2 separate regions of the Homo sapiens genome follow, and region 2 is linked to region 1. Evidence: promoter capture Hi-C in 16 types of primary human blood cells and fetal thymus (Javierre and others, 2016). All regions are on one chromosome and are shown on one strand. Each heading gives the region's core, a stretch centred on a gene start or on the middle of the fragment in contact. The rest is flanking DNA. Distances are from core to core; before and after follow the strand shown.

What was found. The method cuts DNA at HindIII sites, captures the fragments that hold promoters and counts their contacts. A CHiCAGO score of 5 or more calls a contact.
Region 2: a fragment that was not itself captured here is called in contact with the fragment with the promoter of MASP1 in region 1 in 1 of 17 cell types (megakaryocytes); the score reaches 5.9 in megakaryocytes.

Annotation. Positions count from the first base shown.
Region 1 is chr3:187,289,141-187,296,113 of GRCh38, reverse strand. MASP1 (MBL associated serine protease 1) reads left to right here and starts at 4,377. Exons shown (of 11, transcript NM_139125.4): 1 at 4,377-4,486. The coding sequence starts at 4,482. It overlaps LOC101929130 (a long non-coding RNA gene), which reads right to left and starts at 4,842. Exons shown (of 2, transcript NR_135551.1): 1 at 4,578-4,842. RefSeq lists an enhancer at 24-600. The HindIII fragment of the contact is 4,632 bases long and covers 2,606-6,973 here.
Region 2 is chr3:187,217,164-187,223,807 of GRCh38, reverse strand. It overlaps LOC105374260 (a long non-coding RNA gene), which reads right to left and starts at 782. Exons shown (of 3, transcript XR_007096209.1): 1 at 1-782. It also overlaps a transcript of MASP1 not described here. The HindIII fragment of the contact is 4,160 bases long and covers 854-5,013 here.

The sequences.
Region 1 (6,973 bases), core at 3,128-5,627:
AGGATTCAATTGAAATCCATTTTCCTCTGCATAAAGACAGTGACAAAGTAAAGAGTTCCACCTAATATGATGCAACTATCTTGTGATTTTGATTTTGGGGATTTTAGATGTTAGGGATTTAGACTTTAGAGGTTTTGACTTTTTGGAATTTCCATATTTGGGATTATAGATTTCAGGCTTGTGTCTTTCGGGACTATAAACAAAAACTGTCCGAGATGGAGGTGTTGGCAGATTTGGTTTCTTTTGTGGCTTTTATCCTTGGCCTGCAGGTGGCCATCTTCACCCTACGTCTTCACATGGTCTTCCCTCTGTGTGTGTCTGTGTCTTAATGTCCTCTTATAAAGACACCAATTGTATTGGATTAGGGCCCATTCTAAGGATCCCATTTTAACTTAAACACCTCATTAAAAGCCCTTTTTCCAAACACAGTCACCTTCTGAAGTACTGAGGGTTAGAAATTCAACATATGCATTTGAGGGGAATGTAATTCAGCCCATAACAGAGCCTAATCATTTATTTTTTTAAATAGAAGCTATTTTTTGTCTTCTGTAAAATCTTGTAATCACATGACAGCATGGCACATGAATGTTCAGAGTCCACAAGAAGCACGAGAAATTTGCAGACGACAGGGAAGAGCTTTGCACTTGAGATCAGGGGGCCCTGGGCTCTAGACATACATCATTCACTTACAGGCACGGGCAGGCTTAGTTTCTCTGAACCTCAATGTCTTTACTTGTAAAAAAAGATGTGAATACTATATGCAATAATATATATAAAAGTATCTGGCATATACAAATGACATCTTATCAAATCAAAGGTGCCATCAATTATAAAATGTATCATTATGTTATTTGTACCAAAAGTGGCAAAATCATGCCAGGGGAGATTTTCAAATTACAGATTCAGGAGACTTACCCACAGATTCATTGGGTTTGAATCTCCTGGGATGAAGCTCAAAGATTGTCATTTTTTAAAAATATTTTCCCCATTATTCTGTTGATAGACTCAGAAGCCAGGACTTTCGGCATGCTGTCAGTCAATGTGCTGAAGAACCCAGATTTTCATTCTAAGCTGCCATCTTTGGAGCTATTTATCAGTTTCTCAAATATTCTGTAGGAAGCCTGGATTTCAGCCCTTACCAACAAAAAGTCATTGCCCAAATTCTTTACGTTTTCTAACCCATTCATTGAATTCCAGAAGCTCTAGCTCAAAAGTTGCATAAAATAAATACTTTGGTAGAACATGTAAACCAAAACCTCTTCCAGTGGTAGGAATATTGCCGCATTTACCCTTAGTAGGCAGCTCTCTGATCCCTTTCCCGGACTACAGGACTATAGTGCGCGGGTGCTGAGCCCACCTCAGTCATTCTACGCTTTCATGATTCTAAATGATGTCAGTTCCTTGTATGCATTTTTTAATCGCTTTTGCCAAACTCAAAAAACTAGTTGAACCTTTTTAAATATTACTTTTTCTGAATATCTGTGATTAAATTCTTAGTATCAGTAATATTATGAGCACAGAAAAAGCCAATGTCAAGATTATTAGAGCTATTTTGGACTCCTTGACAATCTTTTAGGTCTAGCAAACTACCTAACCCCCTCCCAACGACATCATTTCATAGTCTTCATATCCACATGTTGATATCTATGATCTCAACTGAGTCCCACCCCCTGATTTCATAATTGAACACACTGATGCCCCACCCCTCCACCCCTCAACCCCCACCCCTGAGAAAGTAAGTGACTTACCCAAGGTCACATGCAAGCTGGCCTATAGTCACTGAGCCCAGTTCTGTTTCCAGCCTAATGTCCCTTCCATTCCTCCCACCCCTGATGACCCATGATCTCTTAGTGACACTTCAGGGAGATTCATCAAAAGCATCAGACAATATGTAGTGTAACCAAGTAGAAAACTGTCCTGAATCACATGCAGATCATTCCTGGGCCACGTAGTTCCTGTTTTTATGCAGATTTCCTCTGAGCCTTGGCTAACTCCCAGGGAAGCGCACATATCAGATCTGCTATATATTGGCAGAACTTTGGCTTAGAACACATCTCGAATGCTTTCCATTGAACATTGGCAGCCTTGAAGAAACATGGCTAGAAAATTATTCCAGGAGGCCTAATTGCTCTGTGACACTTTCCAAGGAGAAGCTGATGGCTTTCTCGCCCAAGCTCTTCCCTCTGTACCCAGAACAAATGACTGCAGTTCCCAGTATATGCCCTAAATTAGGAGAGGGCAAACTCCGTGGCAGCATGAATTGAGGGAATGTCTTTACTGGGCAGGGGCCCTCTTCCCAGCACAGTGTGCATTTTGCCAAGCTCTTTCTCCTTCAGTTTTAAAACCCTTGTGTATTCCAAGAGAAATGTCGTCCATGTGTTTCTGATTCATTTACACGTAAATCATTAAAATGTTGTTTTGTGAGAGTTATTTAATGTGTGCGGAGCCTGTGAGTCTTCTTAACGGGAATGTTAAAAGCTTTTTTTCCTGTGCTGACTGAGACAGAACACATTTTGCTAAAACAGTGCCTGAGTTCAAACATATCCTCCCATCTCATATACTTGTACCTGCTTTATCAACCACAGCCTCTTGATAATGCCAAGCTTGGCAAGGCTGGCATTCAAAAGTGTGAAAATTAGAGAAACTGGAGAGAAAATGGAGTAAGAAGTACAGTGAGAGTCAAGCCACTGTTCCCCAGAACGTGCCAAAGGAACGTTATCTGAGGGTAGACAGTGCATGTGTCTGCCGCTTTGGTGAGTGTGGCTGGCAGCCCTCTCTCTGGTACTCCCCTGGACACTTCTACAAGCACAGTCTTATTTAAGCCTCATAGTAACTCCCATTTTCCAAATGAAGACACAGAATCAGATACCTTAAGTATTGTGCCCAAAGTACACAGCTGTCTTGGGTAGAAAGGAAAGATTACAGCTAAACTCTGAGTCTAATCTTCTTTTCAAAATGACTCAGATTGAGTTTCTCTATGAATGCCGTCTGTGTGTGTGCATTTGAAATTCCATATGCATTATAAAATGTTAATGAGTAGCAGTGTAATACAGTGGCTAACACTTCAAATTCTGCCTCTATTACTTTCTAGCTGTGTGAACTTGGGAAAGTTACTTAACCTCTCTGGGCAATTTCCTCTGAAAAATGAGAATATTGCCAGCCATGTATACAACATATAAAGATGACTGAAAAGAATTCATATATTAAGTGCTTAGAGCAGTGCCTGACACGTAGCACTCAATAGCTGTTAGCTTCTAGTGCTAGTGGCAGTGGGGAGTCATAAATAACTGGATGATCTTGGCAAGTGGCATATTCTCTCTGAGCCTTAGTGTCCTCACTTGTAAAATGAGTATAACAGCAGCACTTTCACCAGTTTGCAAAAGTAACTTGAGATGATGTTAATGACTAGTACTGTGTCTAACACAGAAAAGGTGCACAGTCAAACTTAACTTTTACACCCAGATACACCTCTCCCTATTCAGTGTTGGTTGTTGTTGTTGTGGAGGGGGTAATTTTCTTATTATTCAGCTCATCTTAGATCTAGTGTTGATTTCTCCGGAAGCCATGGGTATAGACATATATACAGGCCCAGGTCTTTCTACACCCCTGGGGAGGTGAGATTTCTTGCTGCGATGGGCCCTTTCTGGGCTGGAGTAGAGCCGCACACACTCCGAGCAAGTAAACAGTGCCACAGGTATTGCTCATGGGGAGGAACAACCAGCCAACTTCAGGACTTGGTGCTTCCCCAGTTCCGGGCCCGTGGCTCTGTTCACAGGAAAACCTGTCGTTGTGTGTGACTCTGATCACGAGAAAACCTGTAGTTATTTGGGGCTCTGCTCACAAGGAAACCTGTAGTTATTTGCAGACAGACGCTCTGGGATTTAGACCTTTTTTTTTTCTTCTAGTGTAGGTGCTAGAATTGCCTTCTTAGTTGGTTGTTTCTATTTAATTGCTTTTCTTTCATGGGTGTCCTGAAGAAAAGCAGAAAATTATAGTCATCTGGCAAAAAAGACTAAAGAGAAATTAGACTTTGTCCCCTTTCACTCTCTCTCTCTCTCTCTCTCTACACACACACACACACACACACACACACACACAGAGTGATACAAATACCTGCTTGAGCCCCTCAGTTATTTTCTCTCAAGGGCTGAAGTCAGCCACACAGGATAAAGGAGGGAAGGGAAGGAGCAGATCTTTTCGGTAGGAAGACAGATTTTGTTGTCAGGTTCCTGGGAGTGCAAGAGCAAGTCAAAGGAGAGAGAGAGGAGAGAGGAAAAGCCAGAGGGAGAGAGGGGGAGAGGGGATCTGTTGCAGGCAGGGGAAGGCGTGACCTGAATGGAGAATGCCAGCCAATTCCAGAGACACACAGGGACCTCAGAACAAAGATAAGGCATCACGGACACCACACCGGGCACGAGCTCACAGGCAAGTCAAGCTGGGAGGACCAAGGCCGGGCAGCCGGGAGCACCCAAGGCAGGAAAATGAGGTACGTGCCAGGGGAGGAGAGGGCACGGTTCCCTTTTGGGGACCAGTGTCAAATAGCAGGGAAGGTCTGACCTTGTCACTGACAGACTCACCTGCGTGTCCTGCATGTGGTAGTGAGGGGCTTTCTCATCAATTCTTAGGGCTCTGAGAAGGGAGCTGTGGGTGGGCTGGGTGCCTTCCCCAGGACTCCAGGAGACATAAAACTTGAAACGGGAGACTTCGTGCAAATCCTGCTCCGGACGCTGCTGAAGCTCAGATTTCTCCCACTGCCTGCACAGGGTGCTGCCTGCTGGCGAATGTGACTCTCCTCCTGTTCACCCACAAGGCTGATTTTTCCGTGTTCCTCCTCTGGAAAGAGCATTGCTTTCTCTCTTCCAGCACTTTGTGAGTTAGATATGTGTTTGTGTGTTCATTCCTTCTGACCAGAAAAGAAACCAGCTTCCCATAGCTTGGCTCTGTGGTTTCTTCAACCTTTACAAGTTTGCCAGTTAAACCTCAATTTAGAAAACTAAAAATCTGTCCCCATTTTACAGTTCCCTATAAATTTTCTGCATTTCTCATTGAAATCAGAGGCAGCTGGTGGCATGAATCAGGCTATGAAGTACACCAAATGGCTCTTAAAGAGATATCATACTTAAAAAAAAAAAAAGGATTTTAGAGTTCTGAAATCAAGAACTTCAAATTCTAATTGGTTTTAAACTCTTTAACCTTTCTTATTCCTCATTATACTTGACACTCCTTACCAGACCTTTCATACAAGTTCTATCCTGCAAGTCTGAAAACCCAACCACCCTAGTTATTTTTATTAGTTAAGTGTTAATGCTGTTACACACACACACACACACACACACACACACAATGCTCTGCAGATGTGTAAGTCCCTAAACACATCTTTTACTATTAATTTTCTTTTCACTTGGGAAAGTGTTTTTATTTGTTTCTCTTCTGCAAAGTAACCTAGCAACTTTTCTGGACCTGAGACCAATGAGAGGCTTCAGACTATGTTAACTCTTTGAACTCCGATTACCTGTGGTTCAGAGAGATAACCAGGTCCTTAAAAAGTGAGTGCAATAATTCTGTTCTTCTTAAAGCCATAGTAATTTTAAACCTGCCATTAAACATCATTTTTCTTTCTCCAAAAAAAAGTGATTTATGTCAATCTACATTGAATGATAATCTCATTTATCTGTCAATGATCTGGTCTGAATCCCACCCTACCATTCAGTGCCCCAGCCCATATCAAACTACTTGGCTGAGTAACAATTCTGTATCTTTGCATATGCTCATCCCTCAACCTGGAGCAACCTTCTTCTTTATTTTCCACCTAGAAGACCTGATTGTTCAAGCTGGCACAAATATCTCTTTCTCTCTCCTGACCACCATATTCCAGAGTGAGCATCCCCTCCTTTGTCCTTTGTTCTGTTTCTGTCCCTTGAAGCTGCATCTCTTATTGTCCTTGTAGTATCCCCTTGTTTAAATGTCCACCTCCCCTTACAAGTCTCAGCACTCCTTAAGTTACATGATCTATGTCTTCATCTTTGTATGGCCAGCACCTAGCATAATGTCTATTTCCTACCAGCCATTCAATACCTATTTGTTGAATTGAATTCAATTTTTGAATAGCCAAGCAACTACGAGAAAGGTGCTCTGCTAGAAAAGTCTCCAGCAGGTCTTGTCTCACATGGATACAGTATTTCAGTGTTTGCAGAGCACTTTCAAGAGCACTGTCTCATGGGGGTTTCAGATTCTGGATGAAGTAAGGATTTATGGATAAGTAGTGGGTATAAAAGCAGTTAAGCAACTTGCCCAAACCACACTGATGATCATGAAAAGGTCCAGATTCAAATTTGGGTCTTCGGGCTCCAAGTTCAGGATTTTTTCTACTATATTCCACTAGACTTTCAGCCAAGTGTATTATTCTAAACTGACGGCTCATAATTCTGACTGTACGTCGGAATGATCTGTGCTGCCTTGAAACATGCCAGTGCTCAGGCCTCACCCCAGAGCAATTAAACCAGAACCTCCTGAGGAGGGACTTTGGCATTAATATTTTTAAATTTTTTACGTAAAGCCATGGGTTTTTCAATTATTTTTCACAGGATTAATTGCTTTGGCCAGATGCCTGGGCATGATATGGGCATGGACCCAGCTTCTTCTGTGAGCTCTTTTTATTCCCTTCTTCTGTTGAAGTTAATTCACCATATGGTATTGAGCATGATGTGACATCTCTTGGGGTATCCTTTTCATCGTCTGTCAAATTAGGGTGCTCTGTAAAGGATCCATGCAGTCCCTTCCAACTCTTCAATTCAAAAATGGAGTCTTGGTGTGGAGTGGGTTGAAACAAGGGGCGTGTACGGACAGTGTATGGAAAAGATAGCAAGTGCCGTTCATGCCGCAATCATAGATATATGCAGGCATTTTTACAGAGTCCTGCTAGCCTGTTCCTACGGGGGGCCTCTGAAATCTCAGCTCTATATATTACTTTTGA
Region 2 (6,644 bases), core at 1,684-4,183, 71 kb after region 1:
GTATCCAGGCTCTTTTTCAAATGAGAAAATAATTGCTCTGTCAGTGCTCAACCCACTTCCACATTGCCCCACAGATTTACCAACTTCATAGACTTCTAGAATGTCAACTCTGAAAGGGGTTTTAGAGAATACCAAGTCCAGCCTCCTCATTTTATGGATAGGAAAACAGAGGCTTAGAAGGGGAGCAGAGAGGAGGGCTGGCTAAAGGCACCATAGCACATAGTGGACTAGGCTGGGCTTTTTATTTATTCGCTGTTCTTGATTGAGCACCTACTATGTGACAGCATTGCTATAGGCACTGTGATATAGCAGTGACCAAGAATGAGATTCTGCTCTCATGGACCCTAGGTTTCAGACTAGTTGAGGGTGGGACAGAATAGAAAACTAAACAAGTAAGCCAGTAACACATCATAGAAACCAGTGCCCCTAGCTCTGCTGCAGGTAATCTGTAGCCCAGCTGCCTTTCACGTCTTCCTCCCCACCACACCACCTTTCTCTGAGAAGAACAATCCAGTCTTTCCTCCACAGAAGAGGATGATGGAGCTGCAAGCTGCACCCCTCCAAACACCCCACAGATAGCTTCTCTGTTCTCACAGTATCTTCTCTCCTCCAGGAGCCATGGTCATCGTCAGCGGCTGGGGGAAGCAGTTCTTGCAAAGGTTCCCAGAGACCCTGATGGAGGTGAAGTTCACTTTATAACCTACAGACAGTGACACCTCAGCTCTGCACTGGGCCTTCCTGCTCCGTATTGTTCCCTTAGGGATTTTGAGGCTTGGGTGGGGGTTGGTGAGTGGGAAACTAGGAGCCCAGACCCACCTCCAAAGTTCAATGGGACTTTGAACCCCAGAAAGCTTGATTTGTTTGTTCTACATGTCATGGACTCTAGCCTCTAAACACGGTTAAGTTTTTCTGGTAGCTTATTAAAGGCTTAGCTTATGAAAATTCTCCCAGAAAACAGCAAGTTTAGACACCCCCATGGTGACAATCCAGCTGTGCACCATGAGAACTGTACACCAAATTGGCCAGAATGAGCCAGGCTCTTGAGAACCACAGTCCTTGCAGTAATGAACTTGGCAGTTACACTTAGAAGTTCATATTCCTATCAGTTCAAGGAAAAAAAAAAAAAACACTTAACTAAAAGTAAGGAGCCATAGTTTCAAGTCTTGGCTCCCACTAACTTGCTGGGTCATCTGAAGCAAGTTATTTTGCCTCTCTAGACCATAAGATACTATTTCCAACTGCAGAGTTATGGGGCAACACGAGCTGCCATCAAAGAGTTGCTTGGCTCTGATATCACCGGGGCCTATGACTGACACAGCTAGTTTCTAAATTCTTCCACATATATTATTTTGACATATTTTAAAATTTGGGATTTGCAACAACCATTCATCCCTTCATTCACTAACTCCCGGGGGTCTATTTGGTGTTTCCTTGGTACCAGACACTGTACTAGCTACTAGCTGTGCTGGGGTAAAAGGATAGATCTGGTCCCTGGCCCCCTTGGGCTCATGGTCAAGTGGAATGGACAGAAAGTAGTTATGGATGTGATAAAGGTGGAGAGAGAGAAATGCAGGATGCTCCAGAACATATGAAAGAGAATCTGATCTTGTCTCAGGGGTTCAGGAGGCATTCCCAAAGGAAGTGATGCTGAAATGATACCTGAACGATGAATCAGGTGCTCAGCAGTTGCTGAGGATCTGTCCTCAGGACCACCCTGCCCTGGCTTCCTCTCCCCTTATCCAGGGAAGGCCATGACCCAAGAGGGATCTGAATGGCCTCTGGTTTCCTCCCAGCAAGGGCAACAGGAGTTGTCCATTTAGAGAATATGGCCCATTCAGTTCTTGATTTGACTGAAAGAGAATCATATGTTTCCTCTTTTTATTCCAGACATCTACTCCAACAGTTACCCCCACACTGGATCAAGGGCAATAATAGTCACAATGCCTTATTTTTATGTATCGATTTTGCTGCATTGCAAAAAATATATATATTTTCTGGGTATCTACTAAGCTCCAAGCAATGTAAGATAGAAATGCATAAAATACAGATCCAGCATCGAGACAGATGCTCATACTGTAGAGAGGGAGGACAACATAACAAAGTGCTTGCTGCAAAGCCAGCAGTGATAACTCCACAGTAGCTAATATTTATACAGTGTGTGTAGTTTACAAAGCACTTGTTCCTGCCTCTCCTCTTTGTACAATGATTAGTATATCAAATACTGCAACCTCCATTTTTCAGATGAGGAAAAAGGGTCTCAGAGTCTGAAAAACAATGAGTAAGCCACATGTTCTAGGTCCTACAGTAGGGGTGAGACAAAAGAAAACCAAACTTCATTTTTGTATACATTGTCCTATTGACTAATACATCTCCTAGGCAAGTATTATTACCTCTATCTTACTGAAGAGAGATCTGAGGCCCAGAGAGGGCATGTGACTTGCCCAAGTTCACACAGCCAAGGTCTTCACAGCCAAGACTGCCCTAGAACACGGGCCTCCTGATTCTCCATTCAACTGTTCCTTCACCTGTAGCATGGGGCAGTCTCTTAGATCAAGTCTAAGGTAGACACAGGTCCGTCCAGGTATGGAGTGGAGAGGAGCCGTCTTCAGGGGTGTCAGAATAGCAGAGGCTTCTCAGCCGGGGATGAGGACCAATAACAGCTTTGTGTTCTAGATTGAAATCCCGATTGTTGACCACAGCACCTGCCAGAAGGCTTATGCCCCGCTGAAGAAGAAAGTGACCAGGGACATGATCTGTGCTGGGGAGAAGGAAGGTGGGTTAAGAGGCTGGCATACAACAGGGGCGCTGCCAGCCAGGGAGTGGTGCAGAGCCAGCAAGGGAGCACAGAGGCCTCCCAACCTGGTGGGCTGGCAGTGTGGGGGCGCGGGGGACTGGAGGAAGGCCGTGGGAGGAGGGATTCCACAGGAGAAGATGCATCGGAGAAAAGATATTTACAGGATGCTCATCATTCCCTTCCCAAGTTCAGTGTTTCCCTTAAGAAAGAGGCCTTGGCCGGGCACGGTGGTTCATGCCTGTAATCCCAGCACTTTGGGAGGCCGAGGCGGGTGGATCACCTGAGGTCGGGAGTTCGAGACCAGTCTTGCTAACATGGCGAAATCCCATCTTTACTAAAAATACAAAAATTAGCCGGGCATGGTGGCAGGTGCCTGTAGTCCCAGCTACTCGGGAGGCTGAGGAGGGAGAATCACTTGAACCCAGGAGGTAGAGGTTGCTGTGAGCCGAGATCGTGCCACTGCACTCTAGCCTGGGTGTGACAGAGCGAGACTCCATCTCAAAAAAAAAAAAAAAAAGAAAGAAAAAAGAAAAAGAAAAGAAAAGAAAGAAAGAGGTCTGAATCAGGGCTTTTTAGAATCATTTGAGCTCTGATGCGGCCTGACCTAGAACTGCCCAGAGCTGAGGTTTGGGTCCAACGGTCTGCTATGCCCTCTAGTGCCCAATTCTCTGAACTACAACCCATACATGGGAGAAGGAGACTTGGGCTGGGAAGGGGCATTTTATCTTCATCTATGTCTCTTTTTCACCTAGGGGGAAAGGACGCCTGTGCGGGTGACTCTGGAGGCCCCATGGTGACCCTGAATAGAGAAAGAGGCCAGTGGTACCTGGTGGGCACTGTGTCCTGGGGTGATGACTGTGGGAAGAAGGACCGCTACGGAGTATACTCTTACATCCACCACAACAAGGACTGGATCCAGAGGGTCACCGGAGTGAGGAACTGAATTTGGCTCCTCAGCCCCAGCACCACCAGCTGTGGGCAGTCAGTAGCAGAGGACGATCCTCCGATGAAAGCAGCCATTTCTCCTTTCCTTCCTCCCATCCCCCCTCCTTCGGCCTATCCATTACTGGGCAATAGAGCAGGTATCTTCACCCCCTTTTCACTCTCTTTAAAGAGATGGAGCAAGAGAGTGGTCAGAACACAGGCCGAATCCAGGCTCTATCACTTACTAGTTTGCAGTGCTGGGCAGGTGACTTCATCTCTTCGAACTTCAGTTTCTTCATAAGATGGAAATGCTATACCTTACCTACCTCGTAAAAGTCTGATGAGGAAAAGATTAACTAATAGATGCATAGCACTTAACAGAGTGCATAGCATACACTGTTTTCAATAAATGCACCTTAGCAGAAGGTCGATGTGTCTACCAGGCAGACGAAGCTCTCTTACAAACCCCTGCCTGGGTCTTAGCATTGATCAGTGACACACCTCTCCCCTCAACCTTGACCATCTCCATCTGCCCTTAAATGCTGTATGCTTTTTTGCCACCGTGCAACTTGCCCAACATCAATCTTCACCCTCATCCCTAAAAAAGTAAAACAGACAAGGTTCTGAGTCCTGTGGTATGTCCCCTAGCAAATGTAACTAGGAACATGCACTAGATGACAGATTGCGGGAGGGCCTGAGAGAAGCAGGGACAGGAGGGAGCCTGGGGATTGTGGTTTGGGAAGGCAGACACCTGGTTCTAGAACTAGCTCTGCCCTTAGCCCCCTGTATGACCCTATGCAAGTCCTCCTCCCTCATCTCAAAGGGTCCTCAAAGCTCTGACGATCTAAGATACAATGAAGCCATTTTCCCCCTGATAAGATGAGGTAAAGCCAATGTAACCAAAAGGCAAAAATTACAATCGGTTCAAAGGAACTTTGATGCAGACAAAATGCTGCTGCTGCTGCTCCTGAAATACCCACCCCTTTCCACTACGGGTGGGTTCCCAAGGACATGGGACAGGCAAAGTGTGAGCCAAAGGATCCTTCCTTATTCCTAAGCAGAGCATCTGCTCTGGGCCCTGGCCTCCTTCCCTTCTTGGGAAACTGGGCTGCATGAGGTGGGCCCTGGTAGTTTGTACCCCAGGCCCCTATACTCTTCCTTCCTATGTCCACAGCTGACCCCAAGCAGCCGTTCCCCGACTCCTCACCCCTGAGCCTCACCCTGAACTCCCTCATCTTGCAAGGCCATAAGTGTTTTCCAAGCAAAATGCCTCTCCCATCCTCTCTCAGGAAGCTTCTAGAGACTTTATGCCCTCCAGAGCTCCAAGATATAAGCCCTCCAAGGGATCAGAAGCTCCAAGTTCCTGTCTTCTGTTTTATAGAAATTGATCTTCCCTGGGGGACTTTAACTCTTGACCTGTATGCAGCTGTTGGAGTAATTCCAGGTCTCTTGAAAAAAAAGAGGAAGATAATGGAGAATGAGAACATATATATATATATATTAAGCCCCAGGCTGAATACTCAGGGACAGCAATTCACAGCCTGCCTCTGGTTCTATAAACAAGTCATTCTACCTCTTTGTGCCCTGCTGTTTATTCTGTAAGGGGAAGGTGGCAATGGGACCCAGCTCCATCAGACACTTGTCAAGCTAGCAGAAACTCCATTTTCAATGCCAAAGAAGAACTGTAATGCTGTTTTGGAATCATCCCAAGGCATCCCAAGACACCATATCTTCCCATTTCAAGCACTGCCTGGGCACACCCCAACATCCCAGGCTGTGGTGGCTCCTGTGGGAACTACCTAGATGAAGAGAGTATCATTTATACCTTCTAGGAGCTCCTATTGGGAGACATGAAACATATGTAATTGACTACCATGTAATAGAACAAACCCTGCCAAGTGCTGCTTTGGAAAGTCATGGAGGTAAAAGAAAGACCATTCTGGTATGAAGGTTTTGGGGGAGGAGATATCAATCAAGAAGGCTTCCCAGAAGAGGTGACTGGACCAGAGCCTTGTCCACAGGTAAGACGGAGGAGGCCTTCCACATGGAGGGAGAACAATAGTAAATGTCCACTCAAGATGTCCTTTATTATACCAGCTCCTCCCACAAAAACACATGTCCAGTGGACTCTTTTTCTGGGATCAGAACCAACACCAAAAAGAGCTTTTCTCCTTAAAGTTAGAATTCTAAACAGGACTTGAAATGGCCTCAAGGTTTGTGCACAAATACTGACTTCTGGCTGGACCCAGCTTATTCTGTTTATTTCTCCAATTGCAATTTCATCCTTATCCTGAGAAAATGTCTAAATAGGCCATGGAACCCAGGCTTCCCCGTGACCTACAAGCACTTATTAGCTGTGCCAGCTCCTGCACTGCTGCTAAGGTCCAAGAAACCCAGATCTCTCACAGAGCCATAGAAGCAGAGGGCTGGAGTATCTGTGAGGACAACAACCTTGTCTAACTTCGCGACCTCATTCTTGAGCATTTCTACTGATGAGAAACTCACTACCCCCAATTGCAGCTCATTCAACTTTAAAATTGCTGCTTTTTGAATCACTGATTGTGAATATTAATTTAAAAAAATAAGTAAGAAAATGTTTTAAATGTGCTGCCTCTTTAAAAGGTCTCCTCTTTGTGCAACCAAAACCCACCTCTCTAGAATACAGTTTGTATAACTGAAGCTATAATTTCATACCATGAGTGCTGCTGTTAGCAATAATAATCATGCCCGGATTTTATTAACAACAGAAGCTGTTGCTCGTATGAAAAAACAAACATTAGTTCTAATAAACATCTGCATTGAGTCAAAGCTCCCTGTTTGTTTGTATGTCTTTTATGCACTGATGATTATAGTGAGTTGCTTTCATTTACCAACATTTTGTTGTATTCGTGTAGGATCACTGTACCATGAAGGGAGAGAGACTATG